Linked DNA regions of Homo sapiens: all the other regions are linked to region 1. The links are contacts of gene promoters, found by promoter capture Hi-C in blood cells and fetal thymus (Javierre and others, 2016). All regions are on one chromosome and are shown on one strand. Each heading gives the region's core, a stretch centred on a gene start or on the middle of the fragment in contact. The rest is flanking DNA. Distances are from core to core; before and after follow the strand shown. Region 1 holds the start of TRIB2 (tribbles pseudokinase 2). Region 2 overlaps MIR3681HG (MIR3681 host gene). Region 3 overlaps MIR3681HG (MIR3681 host gene). Region 4 overlaps MIR3681HG (MIR3681 host gene). Region 5 overlaps MIR3681HG (MIR3681 host gene). Region 6 overlaps MIR3681HG (MIR3681 host gene). Region 7 overlaps MIR3681HG (MIR3681 host gene).

Evidence for each region. Contacts are between HindIII fragments. The CHiCAGO score rates a contact against its expected background, and 5 or more counts as called.
Region 2: a fragment that was not itself captured here is called in contact with the fragment with the promoter of TRIB2 in region 1 in 5 of 17 cell types (erythroblasts, total B cells, naive B cells and 2 more); the score reaches 8.8 in erythroblasts.
Region 3: a fragment that was not itself captured here is called in contact with the fragment with the promoter of TRIB2 in region 1 in 2 of 17 cell types (erythroblasts and total B cells); the score reaches 5.4 in erythroblasts.
Region 4: a contact is called between a fragment that was not itself captured here and the fragment with the promoter of TRIB2 in region 1, in 1 of 17 cell types (erythroblasts). The highest score is 5.4, in erythroblasts.
Region 5: a fragment that was not itself captured here is called in contact with the fragment with the promoter of TRIB2 in region 1 in 3 of 17 cell types (fetal thymus, non-activated CD4 T cells and total B cells); the score reaches 6.3 in fetal thymus.
Region 6: a fragment that was not itself captured here is called in contact with the fragment with the promoter of TRIB2 in region 1 in 4 of 17 cell types (fetal thymus, megakaryocytes, endothelial precursors and 1 more); the score reaches 10.5 in fetal thymus.
Region 7: a contact is called between a fragment that was not itself captured here and the fragment with the promoter of TRIB2 in region 1, in 6 of 17 cell types (neutrophils, erythroblasts, fetal thymus and 3 more). The highest score is 8.9, in neutrophils.

What each region holds. Positions count from the first base shown.
Region 1 is chr2:12,715,293-12,718,471 of GRCh38, forward strand. TRIB2 (tribbles pseudokinase 2) reads left to right here and starts at 1,644. Exons shown (of 3, transcript NM_021643.4): 1 at 1,644-3,179. The coding sequence starts at 3,016. It overlaps LOC124905974 (a long non-coding RNA gene), which reads right to left and starts at 1,466. Exons shown (of 2, transcript XR_007086222.1): 1 at 1-1,466. RefSeq lists silencers at 1,232-1,451, 1,542-1,601 and enhancers at 1,554-2,193, 2,042-2,111. The HindIII fragment of the contact is 5,863 bases long and covers 319-3,179 here.
Region 2 is chr2:12,058,937-12,062,115 of GRCh38, forward strand. The region is part of intron 2 of MIR3681HG (MIR3681 host gene); the gene reads left to right. Among named protein-coding and RNA genes, the nearest start is that of MIR3681HG, 53 kb to the left of the region's middle. The HindIII fragment of the contact is 730 bases long and covers 1,263-1,992 here.
Region 3 is chr2:12,074,956-12,078,134 of GRCh38, forward strand. All of the region lies in intron 2 of MIR3681HG (MIR3681 host gene), which reads left to right. Among named protein-coding and RNA genes, the nearest start is that of MIR3681HG, 69 kb to the left of the region's middle. The HindIII fragment of the contact is 620 bases long and covers 1,443-2,062 here.
Region 4 is chr2:12,093,018-12,096,196 of GRCh38, forward strand. The region is part of intron 2 of MIR3681HG (MIR3681 host gene); the gene reads left to right. Among named protein-coding and RNA genes, the nearest start is that of MIR3681HG, 87 kb to the left of the region's middle. The HindIII fragment of the contact is 1,831 bases long and covers 528-2,358 here.
Region 5 is chr2:12,110,602-12,113,780 of GRCh38, forward strand. All of the region lies in intron 2 of MIR3681HG (MIR3681 host gene), which reads left to right. Among named protein-coding and RNA genes, the nearest start is that of MIR3681, 87 kb to the right of the region's middle. The HindIII fragment of the contact is 229 bases long and covers 1,446-1,674 here.
Region 6 is chr2:12,162,925-12,166,103 of GRCh38, forward strand. The region is part of intron 2 of MIR3681HG (MIR3681 host gene); the gene reads left to right. Among named protein-coding and RNA genes, the nearest start is that of MIR3681, 35 kb to the right of the region's middle. RefSeq lists an enhancer at 393-894. The HindIII fragment of the contact is 1,090 bases long and covers 1,180-2,269 here.
Region 7 is chr2:12,181,120-12,184,298 of GRCh38, forward strand. All of the region lies in intron 3 of MIR3681HG (MIR3681 host gene), which reads left to right. Among named protein-coding and RNA genes, the nearest start is that of MIR3681, 16 kb to the right of the region's middle. The HindIII fragment of the contact is 5,400 bases long and covers 1-3,179 here.

The DNA of each region.
Region 1 (3,179 bases), core at 394-2,893:
AGGTGTCCCAACCCCTAATTATTACAAAGCTCTCTTGGCCACTGCATAGAGGAGGCTAGGCACCTCTCTTTCTGACTCAACAGCAGGGGTTGCTTCGAGACTGTTCCTAACACAGGCCAAGTGTCTTCCTGGGGTAAGACTGGATTAGGGGACCCTGCTCGGTCAGTGGTCCTGGTGATCGCCTAGGGAAATAGATCTATTCTGCTGGGATCTGGGACTGAATCCTAGGCAGGTTTGTGGGGAGTAGGATGGTGAGAGGTGCTGGAAGGCACGGGTCCACTTCTTAACCTTCCTTTTAACTCTGTGCTGCTGGGTGGAAGCTTTATAGTCAATGTCCTCTCCATCTCTGGCCACATTCCCAGGACTCCTGATCATTAGAGTGACTGTTGTCCCAAGTGGACATAATTATAAATAGCTCCCTTCTTTTACTGAAAGTGTCCTACAGTGGACAATAATTTAGTCCCCTCCTCCAGTGGAAAATATACTACACGCATGCAAAAGCTCAGAGGGCTCCAGGAGTCGTCCCAACTCCCCTTTCTCAGTTCCTTGGGATTTTTTTTTTTAAGTTTGTCCTCTACTAGATCGCTTCTCATTCACCAGGATATCTTAGATCAAGGCTGGCGTTTGAAGCCTCTGCCTGAGTTCAAGCCCCTTGCTTCCGGTGTTCCTGTCCAAGCCCGCGGACTGGAATCTCCCAAGGAAGTTACGAATAATTCGGGGGGGGTGGCGAAATGGGGGGTGGAGTGGGGCGTGAAACTGCAGCCTTCACCTGGCTAACAGAAGAGGACTCAGGACGCCCAGCACCCTGGATAGGACCCAACAGCGCTCCCTGGAGGTGTGGGTGCAAAGTTTTGTCTAGCTTGGCCTCCAAGGCCCTCCAGGCAATGCACTGGGAAGGGAAGAATTAGTGATTAAATTTGACCTGAATCAAAAGATGCCTTCAGTTCCTCTTCTGCTGAAAACACTAGAAATACAAGCCCAGGATGTGGGGATCGGGGGCAAGCGGTGACACCAACTAAAAGGAAGCAATGGATTTCCTTTTAAATGGAGAGGAGGATGTCGGAGAGATACCATGAAACGAATTCTCGAAACTCCAGGCAGCAATACCGATGAAAGCGCATTCTTCCAAAACAGAGCTCCTCATTCAGGGCCACATCTGAGCCTGGGGGCCCAATGCTCAGAGCGTGCCTGGCTTTCTGGGGAAAAGCGCCAGGAACATGAACGAGCTACGAAGAGCTGGAGCGGGCGCTGCGGGAGCAGCGTGTGGGGAACGGCTCGGGAGTCGCTGCTGGTAACCCCGGCCCAGCCGCCCGCAGCTGGGCTCGCAGCCGGCTCGCAGCCGACACCCAGGGTGCTGCGCCCGGGGCCCCGGGCCGCGGAAGGATATTTCACTTTGTTTACCTCCCCGGCCGGGCGAGGGAGCTGCGAGGCCGGTGCTGGCGCCCCCGGCACGGAGCTGCAATGGCAGCGGCGCGGGGAGCCGCCCGAGGACTGGCAGCGGCGGGGCTGATTGATGGGCGCCCGGCGCAATGAGGGGGGCCCGGGCGGGGGCGGGGCGGGGCCGGCTCTGGGCTGAGCCAGTCGCGGGGGCGGCGGGGGGGGGGCGGAGGCTCCGTGGAAATGTGTCGGTGACATTGAATGGGGAGACCGAGCGCGAGCGAGGCGCGCGCGCGCACACGCGCACTCACGGCCCCGCTCGCTCCGAGATCCCCGGCCACGTAAGTAACTATTAATACCGCCTCGCCGGGGGATGCGGGCGTGCTGAGCGCGGGGATTGGCCTCGGGCACCGTCGGCCGTCCCCTTTAATTTTTAAATACACGGTCCCCTCTTTTCTCTGGGGGGGGCAAGCAAGAAATCAAAGAAGGAGGAGACAAGCCGTCAATTTTCTCCAAAACAAACCCCACCGGGCAATTTGGTCTCGGGGTAGGGGGAGACGGGGTGATTGCAAATTATTCCAGGACGAGATCCAGTTCTCCAGCGGGAAAGGGGCAAAGGAACGCCGCGCGTTGGAAGGGCCAGGGACGCAGCTCCCCTTGCAGCGCCCGCAGGACCCCCGCAAGCTCGTGCCGGCGAAATCGGAGACCGCCGATCTGTCCTCGTTCTCTCCTGCACGTCTGGCTGCATTCGGAGGAAGACCTGGGGCGCGAGCGAGCGGCGACAGCATGAGCCTGTGCTGACCTCCGCGCGGCGGGCCGAGCCCAGGGCTTTGTCGCGGTACCTGCGCCCAGCCCGCGCCGCAACTCTGTGCCCAGCTTTTGCAATCTTTTGTTGGCAGCGCTGACCGCACCAAGTTAAATGCTCCCTTGCAATTTTTCTTTTTTTTGTTTGTTTGTTTAATTTTTGGAGAGCTCGCGATCTTGGAAAAGCCTCAGACGCCATCTACAGTTAAAACGTAGGTAACTGCCCTCTCCCGCACCCCCCCCTTACACGCCCCCCACCCTTTCCACCAAAAAAAGGGGGTGCAGCGCGGATTCTGGCTGCCGTGCGTCGCCAGCCGGTAGACCCGTGCTTGTTTCCTTTCTCTTTTTGTTTGGCTTCTAACGCGTTGGGACTGAGTCGCCGCCGTGAGCTCCCCGAAGACTGCACAAACTACCGCGGGCTCCTCCGCCCCGTCTGCGATTCGGAAGCCGGCCTGGGGGTCGCGTCGGGAGCCCTGGCGCTGCAGCTCCGCACCTTAGCAGCCCGGGTACTCATCCAGATCCACGCCGGGGACACACACACAGAGTAACTAAAAGTGCGGCGATTCTGCACATCGCCGACTGCTTTGGGGTAACAAAAAGACCCGAGTTGCCTGCCGACCGAGGACCCCCGGGAGCCGGGCTCGGAGCAGACGAGGTATCCGGCGGCGCCCATTTGGGGGCTTCTAACTCTTTCTCCACGCAGCCCCTCTTCTGTCCCCTCCCCTCTCGCTCCCTTTTAAAATCAGTGGCACCGAGGCGCCTGCAGCCGCACTCGCCAGCGACTCATCTCTCCAGCGGGTTTTTTTTTGTTTGTCGTGTGCGATCCTCACACTCATGAACATACACAGGTCTACCCCCATCACAATAGCGAGATATGGGAGATCGCGGAACAAAACCCAGGATTTCGAAGAGTTGTCGTCTATAAGGTCCGCGGAGCCCAGCCAGAGTTTCAGCCCGAACCTCGGCTCCCCGAGCCCGCCCGAGACTCCGAACTTGTC
Region 2 (3,179 bases), core at 378-2,877, 660 kb before region 1:
TCCAGACTCTAACATGATGCTCATATTTTGGGTAAATGCATAAGCAGTCAGGAAGATCCTTCTTTAAAAAAATACTCTTCCTTTCTTCCACCAACTGGATGTCTTCTGTGTGATAACAAATTATCTTTGAAGTTGAATATATGTCCAGGAAAGATTGAAACTATTGGTGTTGCTATCTTAAATTTCAAACTCCTTGCTGTTAGAAATTATGTTGTAATCATTATCATGTGCCTGTAGCCAGGTTCCCACTAGATTCTCAATGAATGGCTCTTGAACAAGCATGATTCATTCATTCATTCATATAACAAAAATATAGTATGAATGAACCACAGAAGTTCTGCAGATGCTTAAGATTGTATACTACTTTAAGGAGCTCCATTCTGGGGATGAATATCAATGCTTACGGAGGAGAGACTGGATGGAGACCAGGAGGTCAGGCAGGGAGGGGCACTGGCATGAATAAGGAGGCACTGGGTTCAAGGGGGAGACTGTGCATGTGCCAGGTGTATTCAGTGTGTCTTCGCTGGGTGCTGACCATGGGGTATGAGAGGTAGACCTGCCACCTCGAACAGCCCAGAGCAGAAAGCAAGAGGAGTAAGTCCACCTTGGAGGGGCTAGCAGAGTGCTGTGGGAGAGTGAGTGGGGCAGGTGACAAGGACAGTTCTGAGCATTCTAGACAAATTACTGGTTACTCAGGACAATTGCAATCCACACTCACATTTGGGAAACAGATGGACAAGATTAAAAACTGCAGAGAACCAGGGGATATGGAGAGCCTACCCACTAATAGGGACCTTGAATGCATTGCAGTCATTGCTGGGCTGAGTATGAAGGGTGGAAACACTTCTAGGGAGGGGATGTTTACTTTTGTGGTTTGGGAACTTGTCCCAGAGGCCCCTGCCCTGTCTCTTGGTGAAGAGGATTTAAATCATTAAAAATATTGTATGATTTTCTTCACAGAATTCCACTTTCATGAGGAGTGGGAGAATGTGTTTGAAGTCATACCCATTATTTATTATTTAGTGGTTTACTCTTCATTCATTTAATACAGTTCATTGAGCCTCTATCCTATGCTGGTCTTGAGCTGGGGGTTGGAGGTGAAAGATGGACTAAAGTCTGTCCCTGCACTTTAAGGATCTTTCAGTCTAGTGGAAGAGAGTGACTCATAAGTAATTATAAAGCACTGTGGAGAGTATAGAAGGGCAGATACATAAAGAAGGACAGAGAAGGGAGTGGTTAATTAGAATATTGGCTGTCAGGGAAGCTTTACAGAAGATGTACCGGGATATAAAGGATGAATAGGAATTTTCAGGTTGGGAAGGAGAAAGTAGCACTTTAGGTAGTGAAAGTGTCATGAATAATTGCACAAGGGCAGGCAAGTGCATGGCTTGGGAAAGAATGATTAGAGCAGTATAACTGGAGTGCTGTTGCCAGATAACATACAGGAGGCCCAGTGGGATTCGGATCTCAGATAGATGATGAATATGTTTGGCATGTCCCAAGTATTGCATGAAAAATGCTTACATTAAAGACATTATTTTCAGTTTATGCAAATGTAGATTTAAACCTGGTGTTCTGTATTTTTATTTGCTAAATCTGCCAACCATAGACTAGAACATAAAGCAGGTGAGACCACATCATATAGTTCTCCAAAAGTTCTTTAAAAGTGAGAGAGTTTCAACTTCAATCTTGTGGAGTGGCCTTAGGAGGTTTTTAAACAGAGAAGTGATATAGTCAAATTTCTGTTTTATAAATATTACTCTGGCTCCATGGAGGATGATTTAGAAAGGGGGGCCCTGGAGGCAAGATCATTAACTAAAAAGAGAGGAAAGGGATTCTGAATAAGAGCATCAACTGAGGGATTTTCAGGGCACAGGCTTGACATATTTTAGAGGTAGGACCCACGAGGACTTGCTGAGCAGGAGAGCATGAGGGGTGATGTTTGTGCTGCCAATCCTTTCTAATTATGGCTATAATATATTTGTCCTTGAAAGCTTATGACCTTCTGAACGTTCACTGCCAATAAAGATGTTGGAGAGAGAGTCCTCTGGAGACCAGGAATTCTTTGCCATTAAGCACATAGCTCAGCTCTCCATTTCTTTAAAACACATACTCTGGCTAAACTCTGAGCTAGATAATCACATCTTGATTAAGTGGCTGCGTCCATGCTGGGTACAGGTGGAAACACTTAGTGCTATAATGTTAGACGGGTCTATAAAAAAGAATGCCTTCCATACGTTCTTGGGAGAGATTTATTTTTCAAAAGAAAGTGTATATTTTGGAAGGGAAGAGGCGTTGTTTATTTCTGGGATTAAATACATCTCCAGGGTCATAGAATATATTTGGGTTCTTTAGATATGTTGCAAAGAATTCACAGAATCCTGGTAGAGAGACCCCTTGGTTACTCTCATCCTGTTCCAGTGAGGGAAGCTCAGCCCAGAGAATAGTTGTGACCTGCTCCAGGTGGCCGAACTTGGATTAGAGTAGTGGATTCATGATGCCCAGTTAAAGTGCAATGTGAATTGCACAATTCTTAGGCTTTGTCTAAACATTTAGAGTCTGGAAACACAGTGCCATTCTTTTTCTCTGTAACTACCAAGTTACAAAGAATTTCTGTAACTACCAAGTTACAAGGAATTTATCCTTGAGATGTTTCCATTTGAACTGAAGTATTGATACAAGTTGCTTTTAAAAAAGGGATTTCATGAAATTGTGTTATTTGGAAAGCACTACATCTTTATTCCCCTTGACAGTCCTCTTGCAATACATTGACACAGCCTAACTTCTGAAGGTTTTCAAAGTTTTTAGAGCATGGAACAAGAAATGTTTATATAAATAGGAAATAATGGCTATTTGTTGAATGCATTTTCAGTTGTGGGATTTAGACATTTTGGCTAAGGCGAGCTTTCCTTTTAATAGATCAACTTTCAGGGCCAAGTTGTGTTTAAAAGAATAAAGTGAAAAGTATTGTATTTACATTTCAAGAACAAAATGTCTCTCCTTCTTAGAAGTTTTAGGAATACTGCCTGGGGCCACCGCCTGCCTTTGCTGCATTAATTCCAGGGAGAGCAGACCACAGTGACTCCTTCCCTCATTAGGGTTTAAGAGATTTGTTTCCTATAAAAGACTCAGCAAAATCCCTCCCTCCTCTCCTAAACAATGAAATACTACAACCAAAC
Region 3 (3,179 bases), core at 503-3,002, 640 kb before region 1:
GTTTATTTTCCAGAGTGAAAAACTAATTCATGTAAATGAATCATTGAAGTAGGCCTTTTAGATGACTTTGCATTTTCATGATTCCTATTTTTCTGGAAATCCAAGAGCAAGTTTCTCAAGTTGTTAATAATCTAGAATATTTCACATGTATTTCCTGTTGGTTCCATACTGATTATAATACTCAATGGTTCTTATTTTGTCTTGCTTCCCAGTCTTTGAAACTTGATTTTCTTTCTTACCTGATCAATTTTTACCAGTCTTTCAAGATGCACCCTGAATTGTTTTTTAAACCTCCCAGTTTCAAGATTATTTTTGAAATGGGAAAATTAGTTTTCTCATGGGAGTGGGCAAAGTTTCCATTTTTTTGGTGAAATAAGAAGCATAAATGTGTTTCACACAGACTAAGCACATGAAGAACGATCACCTTATGTAGAGCTTGATAAAATTTTATATACATCTGTGTAATCACCATACAGATTAAGACAGAGAATATTTTCAGGACCCATGAAGGTTCTTTTCTGCGCCTTCGTCATCAATACTCCACCTCAGAATAATCACATTTTGACTTCAATCACTGTCAATTAGATTTTCTTACTCTTGAACTGCATATAGATGTGGTATGCACTTTTTATTTTGGTTTATTTTGCACATACTATGTTTTAAAGATTCATCCAAATTATGTGTGTATCAATGTTTTTTTTTTTTAATTTGTATATAAGTAGTCCATTATTTGACTATACCACAATTTATGTATTCATTCTTCTGTTGATGGTCAGTGGGGTTGTTTTCAGCTTTTGGCAATTATGAATAAGCCTGCTGTAAATAATCTTGTTTATTTCTTTTTGTGGGAAAACGTACTCATTTCTCTTGGGTATGAAACTATGATTGGGCAGGGTGGTTCGTACAGTAGGTCTATATTTAGGTTTAGTAGATACAACCAACTAGTTCCTTTAACTGTGTTTGTAATAATTTATATTCTCAATATTTAAGATTTTCAGTTGCAGTACATCCTCACGAAAACTTTATATTATAGTAATTTTGTTGTTTATTTTAGTTAATTTTTTAAAGATAAGTGTTGGTATCTTTTCATTTGTCCATTAGACACTTGGGCATGCACTTTTGCAAAGTCCCTGATCAAATCACTTGCCCCTTTTAAAAATTAGAGTTATTTGACTTTTTTCTTATTGGACAAATTGCTTGAACATGCACTTTAGAAGAAAGTTATGCAAAGAGCCAATAAACCCACTAAAAGATGCTTTCTTCTTTTACCAACCTCACAAACAAAACAAAGATGAGATACATCTTGAATAGGTCTTTGCCAACAGAGTGCCCTGGGCCCTGCTCTCTATTCATGGGTTTTATTGGAATCCTTTTTGAGCTAGAGCTAGAGCTGAAGGTAGATGGGCATGAGTGGGTCTAAACCCAATGCCCAGCTTCTAGAAAGCTTTCTCTTGGCACTCCTCTGCCCTTCCAAAATGGCAACTTCTCCCTAAGCCTACTGTGGCTTTTCTGGTATTTGGAATTGGCACAAATTATGATGCAAAATTGCCATTTTCAGCATTCAGGGTTCTTTTTTTTACCACTCCTACTTAGAATTTTCTCATGTAATCAGACAGAGGGAACATTATTATAATTTTCTCATGTAATCAGACAGAGGAAACATTATTTTAGCAATTGACACCAACATTCCTTGCTTGAACAAAATTCTGAGATAAGGGGTTGGGGTAGAGGGTTTGTGTATTGACAACAGATAAAATTTAAGGAGTTTTGCATGAGACAAGGGGAAGAATTGTATTGCTCTGGAGGGTGGGAAAGAGGCAGTAGAGAGGTGAGGACTACTGAGCCTCCTAGGGTCTTGCCAAAGTATTTTAAGATGATGATATCTACTCCTGCATTTTAAAATGCTAATGTGGTAGATTGTATTACTGTTCATCTATATTTGGTGCCACCGTCTGTGGGAGGATTATACATCTCCACACTCTTAGTACTCAGTTTCAGCCATGTGACTTGCTTTGGTCAATCAGTCATGAGTGAAATTGATGTGCGTGGTTTTCCAAGCAAAAGCTTTAAGCGTTTGTGAGTGAGTGATTCCCTCTTCTGTGATGACTGGCCCTCTTCCAGGTAACAAATGCTCTGCTGGCTTTGGTCCATGAAGAAGAAAATGGGAACAGAGCCAGGGCCGACTGTGATGTGCATGTAGGGTGAATGAACGTACAACTTTATTATTGGAAATCAGTAAGATTTGGGGGTCATTTGTTAGCTTAGTGTTACCTGGTTGATTCAGTATAGTTCTGCTATGCAAACCCTCCTTTGTTCTCTGTGCCTCCAACCAGGTCATCTCGAGCAAATTCTGCTGTATTCACTGGTCCTTTGAAAGAATAATTTTTGTTGGTGAATCAAGGAAGATGAGGCATTTTGGATCTGAGTTGAAGCACTGCTAAGATATCACCTGCTGAGCCAGGAGAAAAAGGATGCTCTTGAGAATATGAGTACCCTTACGATGCACTGAAATAGAATGGGAGGTTGAATCAATTTTAACCAGATATTCAAAAAGCAAGGGACTCCTGCCTAACAACTGGGCAGGAGTTGTCTTTGATGGGACTAACCTCTGAGATAACATGCGCCAGCACTACTCTATATAACTTGCATGTCCAGTTGTTTTTTATTTTCTAGATTTGGTGTGGAGATTGAAGATGGTCATAGCCTTGATTGAGGAAAGAGATCAATACTCAGATTACCACATGATAGGTTAATATGACAGATGGCTATACATGGTGAGGATGGGCCTGGGGTCCCTGGGCCAGTGGATGATATTGGGGATTTATGAAAGGGCACCGTTATTTAGAGAAATGGGAGTCTACTACTTGCTTAACCCTGGCTATTTTTTTTTTTTCTTAAAAATCTGTTCTTTTTAGGAGAAAATTCCAGATTGTAACTTTTAGCTGCCTGTCAGGCTTGTTGTTTGGTGTGCTTTGAGTTTTCACCTTTTTTTCTGTATTTGCAAGCTTTTTTTTTTTTTTTTTGTGGGGTGGGGTGGCATTGGGTAATTGAGAGAAGGTACATTAGAAGCTGCTATCTAGGTGTCATGTAAGCTATGTTTCTGCAAAGAAAAATTTTGTACTAGAAAATTGTGCAAGAAGTGAGAGCTGATTTTTTCATGACCTTTTCAAGCCCATGTC
Region 4 (3,179 bases), core at 193-2,692, 620 kb before region 1:
TTGACTGATTATTTGATACGGGCGTTGACTTGATATTGGTTCTGTTATTGCAAGTTGGCTTTACACTGAACTATTTATAGCTGGTGAAGTTTATTCTCATTCTTCTAGTTCAACTGAAATATAACTATTCTATTACATCCCGGGTTTATCCTCCCCCCCTGGAATTGTTTCTCCTTTCCTTAACTACATTATTTATATATATCTTTCGTCCTTATTTTTTTTCCTGCCTTGTATTACCATTAACTGGATACATGTCAATCATTAGACTGAAATCAACATCTGGAGAGTGGAGATAATAATAGTATCTACTTCATAAAGTTGGTGTAAGCAATGAAAACACTACTGTGTATTCAACATTTTAGTCTGTATAATGACCATTATTGTTATTTAAGGTGTAAAATAAATTTTATCCATATCTCTATAAATCACCCTGTCCCTAGTGGCATTCACAGTTCTTTATATGAATAACTATTTGCCAAAATGAATTTACTGCAATATTCATTATCAGAACTACCAAAGGGTTGAAAAGCTTTTTTGAGATTATTTTCTTGTACTCATTGAGTTACAATTAATTTTACTATACCTATATTAGGGGTAAGTAAATTAGGGAAGTAGTTAGAGTTAGGTTTAAGAAAGATTTTCTCCTGTTAAATGACAAGTCCCTTATGGACATCAACTTTTAATTCTTATGTCTTTAGCATACAACATAATAAAAATCAGCACATCATGCTTTGTTGAATAAATGTAAAAAAAAACTTGCTCCACTAATCTGGGGTGCAAAAGGAAGGCACATTTATTTTAATATAAAAATCAAATCTCCAAGCCCCCACCTTGCCAACCATGAGTATCTTTCTCTTGTCCCAGAGTACCCCGATCTAACTCTCTTTGGACAGTTCCATTTCATGCACCCCAGACATTCTTACTCCATTCAGGGAATTAGTCTTGGCTGGCTGAGTGACGAGAGAGAATATCGGGAAAAGGTCCTCGAAGAAGCCCATTCTCTTTAACTGTTGTTGCTTCTCTGAAGCCAGTGCCTGCCTTGTCTGTTATCTTTGATTGCCTGGACACACCTCCACACAAATCTGGTGGCCCAAATACTGAGTGTTTCAATGGCAGGGGCAACTGCCACCCTCAATGGTTTAGCAGAAGGTGCAGGGGGAGAAGACAGTATCTCTGCGTCCCGGGAACTTGCTTTAGTAATGGTTGCTCCCATCTGACATCTCCATCTCACCTCTATAGCTCCACAGCTCTTCCGGTTTACATGCTCACAAATGATCACATGGCACTGGTGGCCACACACAGTGCAAGTGTGGCTGAGTCAGGAGGGCTTCCAGCCCTTTTGCACAGAGCCCTTTCCCAACATCTTTTTGTCTTGGCAGTGAATGAGGAAGTTCTTCCATCTTTTGATCCTAAGGCCAGTCTCATTTCTTGACCAGGGTAATTGACATGTCTTTTAGGGTGAAAACTCCTCCTTGTCAAAAATGAACAAATAAATGAAGCCTATCAGCATAATTAAGGAGTTACCTAATAATCTGTCACTAAAATCACAGCATCATGAATACGCATTCATTAGGTTATGAATTCATATGTTTAACCAATAAACCCTACACTATGACTTTAAAGAACAAATTGAACAAAACCAAATATTTTTATGCATTGGTAACTTGGCACACCATTGAGTAATTGTGTATACTTTTGCCTATCTTCGAGCTCTCATTATGTTTCTCATGTTCTTTTCAATTATTTGTGAATCTTTACATGCTTTCATTGGGAACATTCATTTTGGTTTATTTTTCTAAGCCTATGGTTTGTCTTAAATCTGCATGGAACATAACTTTTACGAGGGCTTTAATTCAGACTTCAGAATTTCTATCAAATGATGGCAATATAATGCCATGAGGTGGCAAAAATTATGCTTACATTACATAAGAGTAATTTAAAATAAAATAAATTCAGAGTCTAACATGGTGAAAACAAAATCAAAAGAAGTAAAATAGGAATAGCTATCTGAAATGAATGTAAAATTAAAACACATTTTAGTAAAAGAACTTAGAAAATGGACAAACTAACATAGATTAAAAAAATCAATGTAGAGTTGCCAAGAAATCATCATGATTGGAAGTTGTGATTCTCAGCTTTTATTTTTGAAATTTTTTTCTTTTACATGAAAATTAGATATGTCACAACATTTTTAGAAAAGTGGAAGCTAGCATAATTGAAGTTGAAGGTAAATTAGAATTAGAAAAGAAAAAGTATGAAAAACAAATCCTATAGCAACATAAAAGATACGCACAATTGTTTTAAAAGTAAAAATAAATTCTGAGGCACAGATGCCAATGCTTAAAAAGATTCATACAAAGCTTGAATACTGGATCATTGTGTTCAAAAATTAACATTATGTGAAGAAAGTTTTGACTGAGAACACTTGTCATTTTGGTCAATTTATTTTTGACAAATTTACTCTTTAATTATCATCAGCTTTCAGAAAAACATGTCGATCTTACCACAGAATCAGTCTGGTAATAATCACAAACAGCATAGACAGCTTCCAAGGGGTATTAGGCCAGTATAGACACTGGTTTCTTACAGACCCTGGGAGGCCACAGGCCTATTACCCAGGGAAAGTTCCGTAATCTCTCAGAGCTCTGTTTCTTCTCAGAAAATGGGGGAAATTACACAAGATGACCTATTTTAAAATAATGCATAAATATAAAGCTTTATTGGAACAAATGTACAGGATGATTACAATATGGTATTATTTTTACCATTATTACCGTAATGGTTGAATCCTATTGCAGTCTTACTTTAAAATACAAAATATTTTGACTGGGCGCAGTGGCTCATGCCTGTAATCCCAGCACTTTGGGAGGCTGAGGCAGGTGGATCACGAGGTCAGGAGATCAAGACCATCCTCGCCAACATGGTGAAACCCCATCTCTACTAAAAATATAAAAATTAGCTGGGCATGGTGGTGCATAGTCCCAGCTACTTGGGAGGCTGAGGCAGGAAAATTGCTTGAACCCAGGAGGTGAAGGTTGCAGTGAGCCGAGATTGCACCACGGCACTCCAGCCTGGTGATAGAGTGAGACTCGGTCTCACAAAAAAAAAAAAAAAAAAAAAAAAAATTAAGGCAAGAAGTACATTCTTGTAGCTGCCAATACAAACATGACAGGCATATA
Region 5 (3,179 bases), core at 310-2,809, 600 kb before region 1:
GGATGCCTGTTCTGGGATCTGAAATGATATGAACATCTGCAGGTCTATGAGAGATCTCATTATCCCTGTATCTCAAGGGCAGGAACCATACTATCACCTGCTTCCTCACTTCCCTTAGTGTATGTGCAAACTGAAAAACAGTGAAAGAATTGAACACGGTCAATGAGAATGCTGCTATCTGTTTAGAGCAGGACTCTTAAAACAGTGCAAACCATGGCAGGGGTAATGAACTCCGTACGCATGTTTAGAATAGGAAAAAGCACACAGTGTCAGAGCCAGAGGAAGCCTTAGGAATTATTTGATATGAGAGAAAACGAAGGCCCACCACACTGTTTTTAAGTGCATGCTGGTTTCATAGTAAAAAAAAAAAAAAAAAAAAGCAAAAACAAACAAACCACAAAAAACACAAAGCAAAACCAAAAAACAGGCTATTATTGGTAATGAATAAAATAGTGTTTAACATTCTATTTCTGGTAAAGCATAGAAATCATTTTAGGTGGTTTGCACAAACAGGGAGAGCAACAGAGAGGAAAAGGGAAAAGGAGGGTAGAGGATGACACTAGAGTCTCTGGGCCCACTAAATACAGCCCATTTGCTACATGAGCCTCTCAAGGGGTTGATTTAAATATTGAGAACACATGAGAAGGAAAATGTGACGTTGCCAAAGGGTTCTGCTCTGGGAGCTACAGGTAGTTCATTTCTAAGCCTTGAGGTTTGTACAGAAATACTTATGTGATGCATAGCTCTTTAGAGATTTTTCTGGCTCTCACACAGTCCTATGAGGTGGGTGATGGGGGAGGATCAGGGAGGCTGATTTATTCCTGTTGTAAAGAGCACAGGTTTGGAGTCTGAGGTTCAGGTTCAGCTGGCTTTGTGGCTTTCCACTGGTAAACCCCAGGCAGGTTATGAAGGAGTCCCAGGCACGACTGGAACTCAGGGCTCTTCGGCACCAGGGTAGGGCTGTGTTTCCCTTGCCTTCTCCTTTTCCTCCTGACTGGGCCACGGGTTTTCTTAGGTCAGCTCTGTCCTGTGAATTCCTTGATGTTGGGAGCTCCGTCTTATTTTTCTCTGGTTTTGCCTGGTGACGTGCTAAGTAGGTTAACAGAGAAATTGTACAACCTGAAGAACATCCTCCAAATTATTAATTTTTAATCTGCCTCATTTAGGATGCTCTTATATTTGTAACCAGAAATCAAAGACCATGTTCTTCAGCTGATTACTCATCATCACTCAGCTGACTTCTTCCAAGGGCAATTCCTTCTCTGTTTTCTTCCTTTCACAGTGATTTATTATATACCTGTAAGTGCTGTGCACCCGTGATGGTGGCCCAGGCTATGAGTTCCAATCTAGTCTGCAGTATTCCACCTAAATTCACCTGATCAAACCATGCCACATCCCGAAATAAAACTCCTCAGTAGCTTCTCCACTGGGAAAGTTAAAGCCCAAGCTTCATGACAAAACAAAGTCAACAGGCCATTGACACCAGGACTGCTAGGGGAGCTGAAGTGGGGAAAAAGTTGGAGATGGGGCAAGGGCAGGTCGTGGAGACCCGGGTGTGCCAGGCTAAGCAAGGATATGGTCTTGAGAGCAAACGAGTCTGTAAAGAAAGGAGTTGGCCTAATAATCTTGAAATACTCCATATGCTGCACACTATGGGATTTGATCCATGTTAAAAGCTTAACATCATTATACTCAGGACAACTGCCATGGGTCGAGTTGTTACTACAGTCCCACTTTCTGCAAACTTCAATTCAGTTGTTCCATTGCAGCATTGTGATGGGTGCTGGAAAACACCAAAGGGATACGTGACATGATTCCAGTCTTCTAGCAACATACAATCATGGCAATTATAAGGTCTGCCATTATTGCTTTAAATATTGATTTATTTGAAATGTATTTATTGCATACTGTATGGCTTTGGGTTGTAATCATATTATCATTGATGCTGAAGTCAGACAATAGGGATTCAAATCCTAAGTATGACACTTACTGTGTGACTTTAAGCAAGTCACTGATGCCCTGTTTTCGCATTTGTAAAGTGGGGATGGTAAATATCCCCCAAGAGGCAATGCCTGTAAAGAGCACAGGAGAGTTCTGGGCCCTTGACAAGCACTCAGAAATTGCTTTCTTGCATTATTCTGTTATGATGTATGGTGTTGGAGGTGACAGAATGTCAGGCAGACATGGTTGACATCATCAAAGGACAGCAAGTAATGAATGAATGACTATACAGAACAATTCCTATTGAAATTGGCGCTGCAAAAGAATTGGCAATGTTCTAGACATCGCTCTAGAGAACAATGAGGCAGATTCTACTTCAGTAAGAATGGGGTGGCATGGGGGAAGCCCTTTCAGGAAAGGTGATATTTAATCTCCCATTTGACCGATGAGAAGAGTTGGCCACTGGAAATGCCAGGGAGAGAGATTCCCAGCTGAGGGACCAGCAAGCAACAAGCCTTTGAGGCAGGAGGAAGCTTGGCATGTTCTAGGAACCAGCAGAGGCTAAATGTGCCTGGGGCTTCGTGAGCAGAAGGCCAAGGTAGCAGGAGATGAAGCTGGGAAGGACGCAGGGACAGATCGTGCTGGGCCTTGTGGGCCCCAGTCAGGAGTTTGGATGTTATTTCAAGTGGGAGAGTCAAAGAAGCAAAGTGACATGATGTGATTTGCATGGCTTTGCTTAATGTGTGCAAATGGTCAAGCTGATGTCTTCCAGGCCCTCTGAATGAAGTAGTGGGTGTGCAGTTTTCAAAAGGAGAAGGCAAAACTGCAAGCCCTGGCAGTCAATGGGGATATACTTATTGGGAATGAAAATTTCTTCATTTGTGGAAATATTACAAAGAAATAAGAACCTGCCCTTGGGAGCACCTGGCAAACATTCTCACTTCTGAAGGGCAGACACACAGCCATGGTTGGCTGCTTTTGGCAGGGCATAAATTAATTCTAAGTGCATGCACAGGGAGAATCTAGTTTGCTATTTAGTATGCCAGGCCCTGAGCTGGGCTAAGGACACAAAGATAAACCAGACACAGAGAGTGCCCTGCACTTAAGGAGCTCACTCCTCTGCTGTAGGAGACTGACTTATGGCAGATCATTAGCATGTGGCAGGAAAGGTGGCCGCATGGAGGGGAGTAGCTGAAAGATAATATGTTGGCACAGAGAAGGGAGAAGCCTGTTCTCTG
Region 6 (3,179 bases), core at 475-2,974, 550 kb before region 1:
AACATAGTGTTTGAGACAGAAGGCAAGCTGTCATAGCCTGACATGCAGGAAACTTGGGATAAATATTTCTGTTGACTCTCCATGGATTCGTTATCCTCACATGCCCTGGTTCAGGGGTTCTCCTGTTGGCGTGAACTCAGTCAAAGGATTAGTTCTTGTCCCGAAGGAATTAATGGGGGTGGTGGCATGGGGTGGGGGAGAGGGAAGAAGGGGGAGGGCATTCATGAAAATCACTGGAAAGTAAATCAGAGGTGGAATGGTGAGGTAACAGTCACGTATTCACGATTACCCTCTCTTCCAAAAACAGACCAACCGGGCATTGAAAAACATAAATAACAGGTTACTATATTTGAAAGAATAGCTCATAATAGCTGACATTTATACACTGGATACATTGCTAAGCATGTAGCACATATTCATTTAGCAAATTTTATTAAAAACGTGCTATGTGTCAGGTTTGGTCAAAACTCTCATAGCACTTACATTCTTGGGGAAAGGGAAGAAAGGCAACGGTTCACGCGATGAAAGGAAACTCTCTGTAATGTTGTGATCAATGCTAGGACGCTCACAGCCCACAGGACGAATTCCAATATTGGCAGCGAGCACGCGACCCACCCCCAGGCTTGGGGCTATCCTGGTCTGGTCTCCACTGTGCCCTTCACGGCCCCACACTGCAGTGGGGGGCTGCCTACCTGCATGTCATAGACCATGTTTGCTTGTACCCCAGGGGCTTGGATCATCTGGTTCCCATTTTCCTGTAGGAGATTCTCTTTCCCCTCCTTCATTCCCCTTCCTCTCAGTTTCAGTCCCTCCTCCACTGCATCTCCTGCCTGCCCTCGGCCACCTCCAGCCATGCAGTAGCTGGGTCCATCCTTGCTGCCCCCCATCGTGCTGTGCTCTCCTCTCTTGTGACACATCTCTCCTTTTATCCCCCGGCCAGCCTTCCACTGTCTGAACCGCTCAATACCGGAAACACCCTGTCCCCGACCGATCTCAGAATTGCAAAAACATGTTCTTTAGACTTCGCCTCATTTAGGATGCTCTGGCTCACGGCAACCTGCTGTGTGGCAGGTGGTCCTGGGCACCGAGCTGGCCAAGCCAGAGGCGCAGAGGCAGAAAGCTGTTGAGGTTATTTCTACTCCCCTTTCTCTACTGGGCCCTAGCTTCTTGCTACACTAAAGCTTGCACGCTCATTCTCAAGAGCTCGCCCCCCACTGATACCTCCCTGGGGCTTTGGCCTTCTCTTGCTCCTGGATCTCAGCTTAGCTCCTGACATGCCTGCGCTCACACATGCTAACATGGGCCTGTGACATTGCTGTTACTCCCGTGGAGGCTGGGTCACTCTTGCTTTTCTAGGTCTTCCTTTGCCCCAGCTGAGACTTAGCCACAGTCATATTCAATAACAATTCTGTTCTCCTTGTGCAGAATGATGGCAGCTTTAGAAAATAGATGAAATGGTTCATGTAATGATGGCCTAAGGGTTTGGCCATCATTTGGATTCCTCTGTTTGTCAGGAGACTGGGGTATCTGGAGGGCTCAAAGCTCTGTAATGTGATGCAATTATTGGTTTATTTGTCTGGTCCTTCCACTGGCTAAGACTCTTTTTCTGAGAAAGCAAACAGAATTTTAGCTCCAGAATATGAGCACCTGGGCTAGTACTTTGGTAGGTGCTCCCTGAATATTTATAGACTAAATCGCTATTTGGATAATCTGAAATTTACACTGTGAATTCTGTAAAATTAAGGTCCATTTCCTATCTCTAAATCCCTAGCGTATTTGCCAACCATCCACTGAGTATTTAACATGTGCCAGACCCTGCACTGGCACTGAGGATGGAGAGATGTATGAGACAAGCAGGAAGACCTCGGATGGGGCAGAGGCCCATATGCAGGTATCAGAAGAGAACCTAACACCAACACGGGTAACAGCAATGCGGAGGAGGAGGCTGTTCACTCCTCTCTGAAGTGGTTAAGAAAGGACTCATAAGATCCCTGGGTATTTTTTTTGAAATAGAGGTGGGAGAAAGAGCTTCGGCTCTGAACCTGGATGCTATTGATGTGGTGCTTGCTGTGATTATTCTTATAGATAGCATGGATTGAGTCCTGATGGTGTGCTTGGTACAAAGCTGAGTGCTCTCTAAGATCATCTCATTTATTCTACTGTAAGGCAGGCTGCTATATAAGGCAGACTCTAATCATCCCCATTTTGCTGGGGATAAGTGAGGTTAAGTTATTTATTCATGTCACGGGCAGTAAGTGGTAGAAGAAGAAGCTTTTCATTATTCCAATTTGGTGACCTTGAATCTCATGGTCTCTACAAAGCCTTCCCTAACGATTGCACATCTTCGGGAATTCTCCTTTCCTTGAATTATCATGGTACTCTGAAACTTTTGCTACACACCATCTTTTCCATCATTGCACATTAGTCATGCTTCTCTAATAGCTTAGTGGTGGCTAGTCCTACTACCTAATCTGTTAATAATTTTTTTTTTAAATGAAGGAAGCAAAGTCACCTACAGGTGAGCACTGGCACAAAACACAGTAGTGTTCTAGTCCCTTGCACATTTTCCTCTCAGCTTGTTCACCGCAGTAGCTGTCATGAATATTATTTCAATCAGGTATCCTGACACACGTGTGTTCCTCCATTGTGATTTTGGACAAGTTATATGACTTCTGTAAGATTTTATTTAGTTGTCTGTACAAAAAGGATACTCTCTTCCTTTGGGGTGACTTGGGAATTACTGGATATGGTGCACATGAAAGCAATCAGCTTTAATTTCCTGACTTTTTTCCCTTGAGATAATATGTAAAGCTGAGTGTTGCTTCCAATAATAGGGGAAATGATCTAGTATTCCATTTATATGGCAGAATGTTGATTTGGGAATGTAATTAGACTTAGATCAAGAAATCAAGGTCAACCAGGCAGGGTGGCTCACACCTGTAACCCCAGCACTTTGGGAGGCAGAAGTGGGAAGATCGCTTGAGTTCAGGGGTTCAACACCAGCCTGGGAAGCATAATATAGACTCTATCTTTCCAAAAAAAAAAAAAGAAAAGAAAAGAATATTAGTTACACTTGGTGGCATGTGCCTATAGTCCCAGCTACTTGGGAGGCTGAGGCTGAGGCAGGAAGATTGCTTGAGCGTGGGAGGTCAAGGCTGTAGTGTGCTGTGATGACACTA
Region 7 (3,179 bases), core at 296-2,795, 530 kb before region 1:
AGTTTCACCATTGGCATTATGGACTGGATAAGTCTTGATTGTGGGGGCTGTCCTGTGTAACGTGGGATGTTTAGCAGCATCGGTAGCCTCTACCTTCTAAATGCCAGTAGCAACCCCCACTCCCAGCCATGAAAATAAGAAATGTTTCCAGCCATTGCCAAATGTCACTGGAGAGGAGGAGGGGGTTGGAGGAAGGAGGATATCACTCTCAGTTGAGAACCACTGCTCTAGAACTTTTTTGAATTCACTCTTTTCTACCTGGTAGTTCCTAAAGCTCAAGACGTGACTTCCTGATCATCGTCCAAGTAATCAACACTTAGCTGTTATTAAGCGGGATTCTTCAGACAGAAGGTTTTTGCATGAATGGACAATAGACAATACACAATACACATATCTGGTATGGTGATTGGATTGAGGACAGTGCCTTTGAGAAGAATCCTTGTCACGTGGATATCAATTCTCTTAGCCAACTGTATTCGGGAGTTGTTTATGAGCTGTGAAACTCAATCTGCTTGCTTTGGAGTTCTTGCCTATTTGGATGTGCAGAGTTATTTTTTAATGATAAATTTTACGTTTGTTGAAATGTATGAGGCATGAAGCTGGGGCTGAAAGTCAGGCTCCTGGAATACAACTCCCAATGAAAAGCAGGAGGCAAGGCTGCCCACACTTTACAGGATGCAGAGGAGGCAGCCTGAACATCCAGTGATGGGACACAGCTGAAGCATGTGGGTTCTGTCTTCTGCCTGGGCACAGTGATTCTGGCTAATAAAGATTGTGCATGGTTGGCAGCTCTTAAATGTCTACTGGTAAAGTCCCTGGGAAAATATGTTCTTTATTTCCCTTCAGAGACTATAAAATGAAAAGGGCAAGATTCTAAAGAACCCCCAAAGCTATTATTTCTGGGGGGAAACATTTTCCTGCCACTTCGACAGTTCCTGTAAAACCAATAGTACTAGCTAGAGGTGGCATGAAGAGGAACAGTAGCGGGGCTAAGACATTAGCAGCAGATCATCAATTTACACATTGAGGGCATCAGCAACAATGGTGGAAAAGAAATCTCTAAGACAAATCCATTAGGAATCACTGTGCCTATAGAGACCCTATAATCACACTGGATGGGATCATCAACTCAAATGCAATTCTGATTGTTCTCTGCAAAATGAGTGTCTCACTCTTCCAGATTCCTACTTAAATCAGGGCAGGTTAACTTGGGTGACATATGCAAGGACATGTAACCAGTACCCTGACCTTCCTTCTTAAGGAGGAAAGAAAACGCCATTGCTTCTCCCATGGAACTCAGTCTAAGGAGCTCATATGCTGTATAACTGTGATCCAAGTGATGCCAAGCACATAGCTCATGTATAACCAGTTAGCTGTGTGGATGCTACAGTACTGATCAGAAGTTTGGGGGATGCTGTGATGCTCCTATCAGCTCATCCCTTCTCTTTCTTCTCTTTACTGTCTGCTTAGTTGCATATTACTTTGCACTGTGTGGATTTGCTTCCCTCTTGCCCCGATCACTAGGCAGAGTTATACCGTTTGTGTTTCCTTCATCCTGGGTTCTCTATTTCTCTTTAGGTTGAACTTGCCTTTCATAGCCACTCCTTCCACTGCCACCCAGAGAAGGTCTCAGGCTGCCCAGCCTGGTCCAGGGCATTGCTACTCAGAGCGTGGTTGATGGGTCTGCTTGTTACAGAAATTAATACAGAAATTAAGAATAAGCTGTTTGAAACTTTTAATAGCAAACTGACAGAGCAATTTTATAATCTAATACTAATATTAATCTAATATATTAATATAAATCTAATATAATAATACAAATCTGACTGTCGTATTTCATTTCATTTATTTATCTTTCTTTTGGTAATTCATTTGCAATATATTTTTCAAATTTTGGTCTTCTAAGGATTAAGGACAAACAAACTTGCTCTCTCTACATGTGGTTTGAGAAGCATGGGTCTGGGGACCCCATCTAGTTGCCAGACCAAAATGACTTCATCCTTCGTCCCGCATCTTATCTCTCTAGTCATTTCCTAGGACCTTGGCCACAGAATGACTGAAGCCACTGTTCAGAGGGGCTAGCCTCACCAATCCCTCATAGTAAATGCAGTATGTTTTAGATTGGTGCTGCTCAGGTTCTGTAATGAGGCTGAGCTTATTACCCTTGTGGTGAAAGATGAAGGGAACCATCTTCTTAGAATAGGAAGGGAAGAGAGTTCATTCTTTTTGATCTGCTTTATTGCTATCCATTCCCACCAGCAGAAGAGCTGCTGAACCAATCCTGCACTTTTGCAAGGAGGAACCGTCATAGATATTTATCCATTTCCTAGTCTTTGCTCACCATGGGGAAGTTACAGCTGCACTTAATGAGGTACCTCACAGACCAGCAGATCTCATGGAATGGAAATGGCAAAAAGAATATAAATATGCAAATGTGAACACTCTGAATTGTCAGATTACACATCAAAATGAGGATTTTGTGTAAATGTTGAAGTTTTTGTGAAAAATAAACACAAGGAAAAATTGATAATATGAAAAATAAACATATTCAAAACTTTTTAATAGAATTTTCAGTATAACACCTATCAAGATACTTTGGGAGGCTGAGAGGGGAGGATTGCTTGATGCCAGGAATTCAAGACCAGTCTGGACAACATAGCAAGACCTCATCTCTACAAAAAATTTAAAAATTAGCTGGGCATGGGGGCACAGCTGTGGTCTGAGCTACTTTGGAGGCTGAGGTGGGAGGATCACTTGAGCCCAGGAATTTGAGGTTACAGTGAGCTGTGATTGTGTCACTGCACTCCAGCTTGTGCAACAGAGTGACACTCCTAAAAAAAAAAAAAGATACTTTTTGAAGGAACTCCCTAGGAAGATCCTGTCTGGGTGGAATAAGAGAAACAGCAGGGGTTTAGAAGTGACTGCTTGACACTCCCTGTCCAGGTGAACATGGAAAAGTCACATTATTTATGTCTCTATTTACTCATCTGTGAAATGGGGATTCTAATGCTCTCTACTTCATGGTTGATGCGAGGATTAAATAAGTTAATACAAATATGTAAATCACTTAAAACAGTGCTCATACTTAAGGCGGGCATGTTAATTACATGCTGAGCTTCAATTATCCGATCTGTAAAGTGAAGAAAATGAGACTCTTGAACTCAAGGGTTATCCTTGAA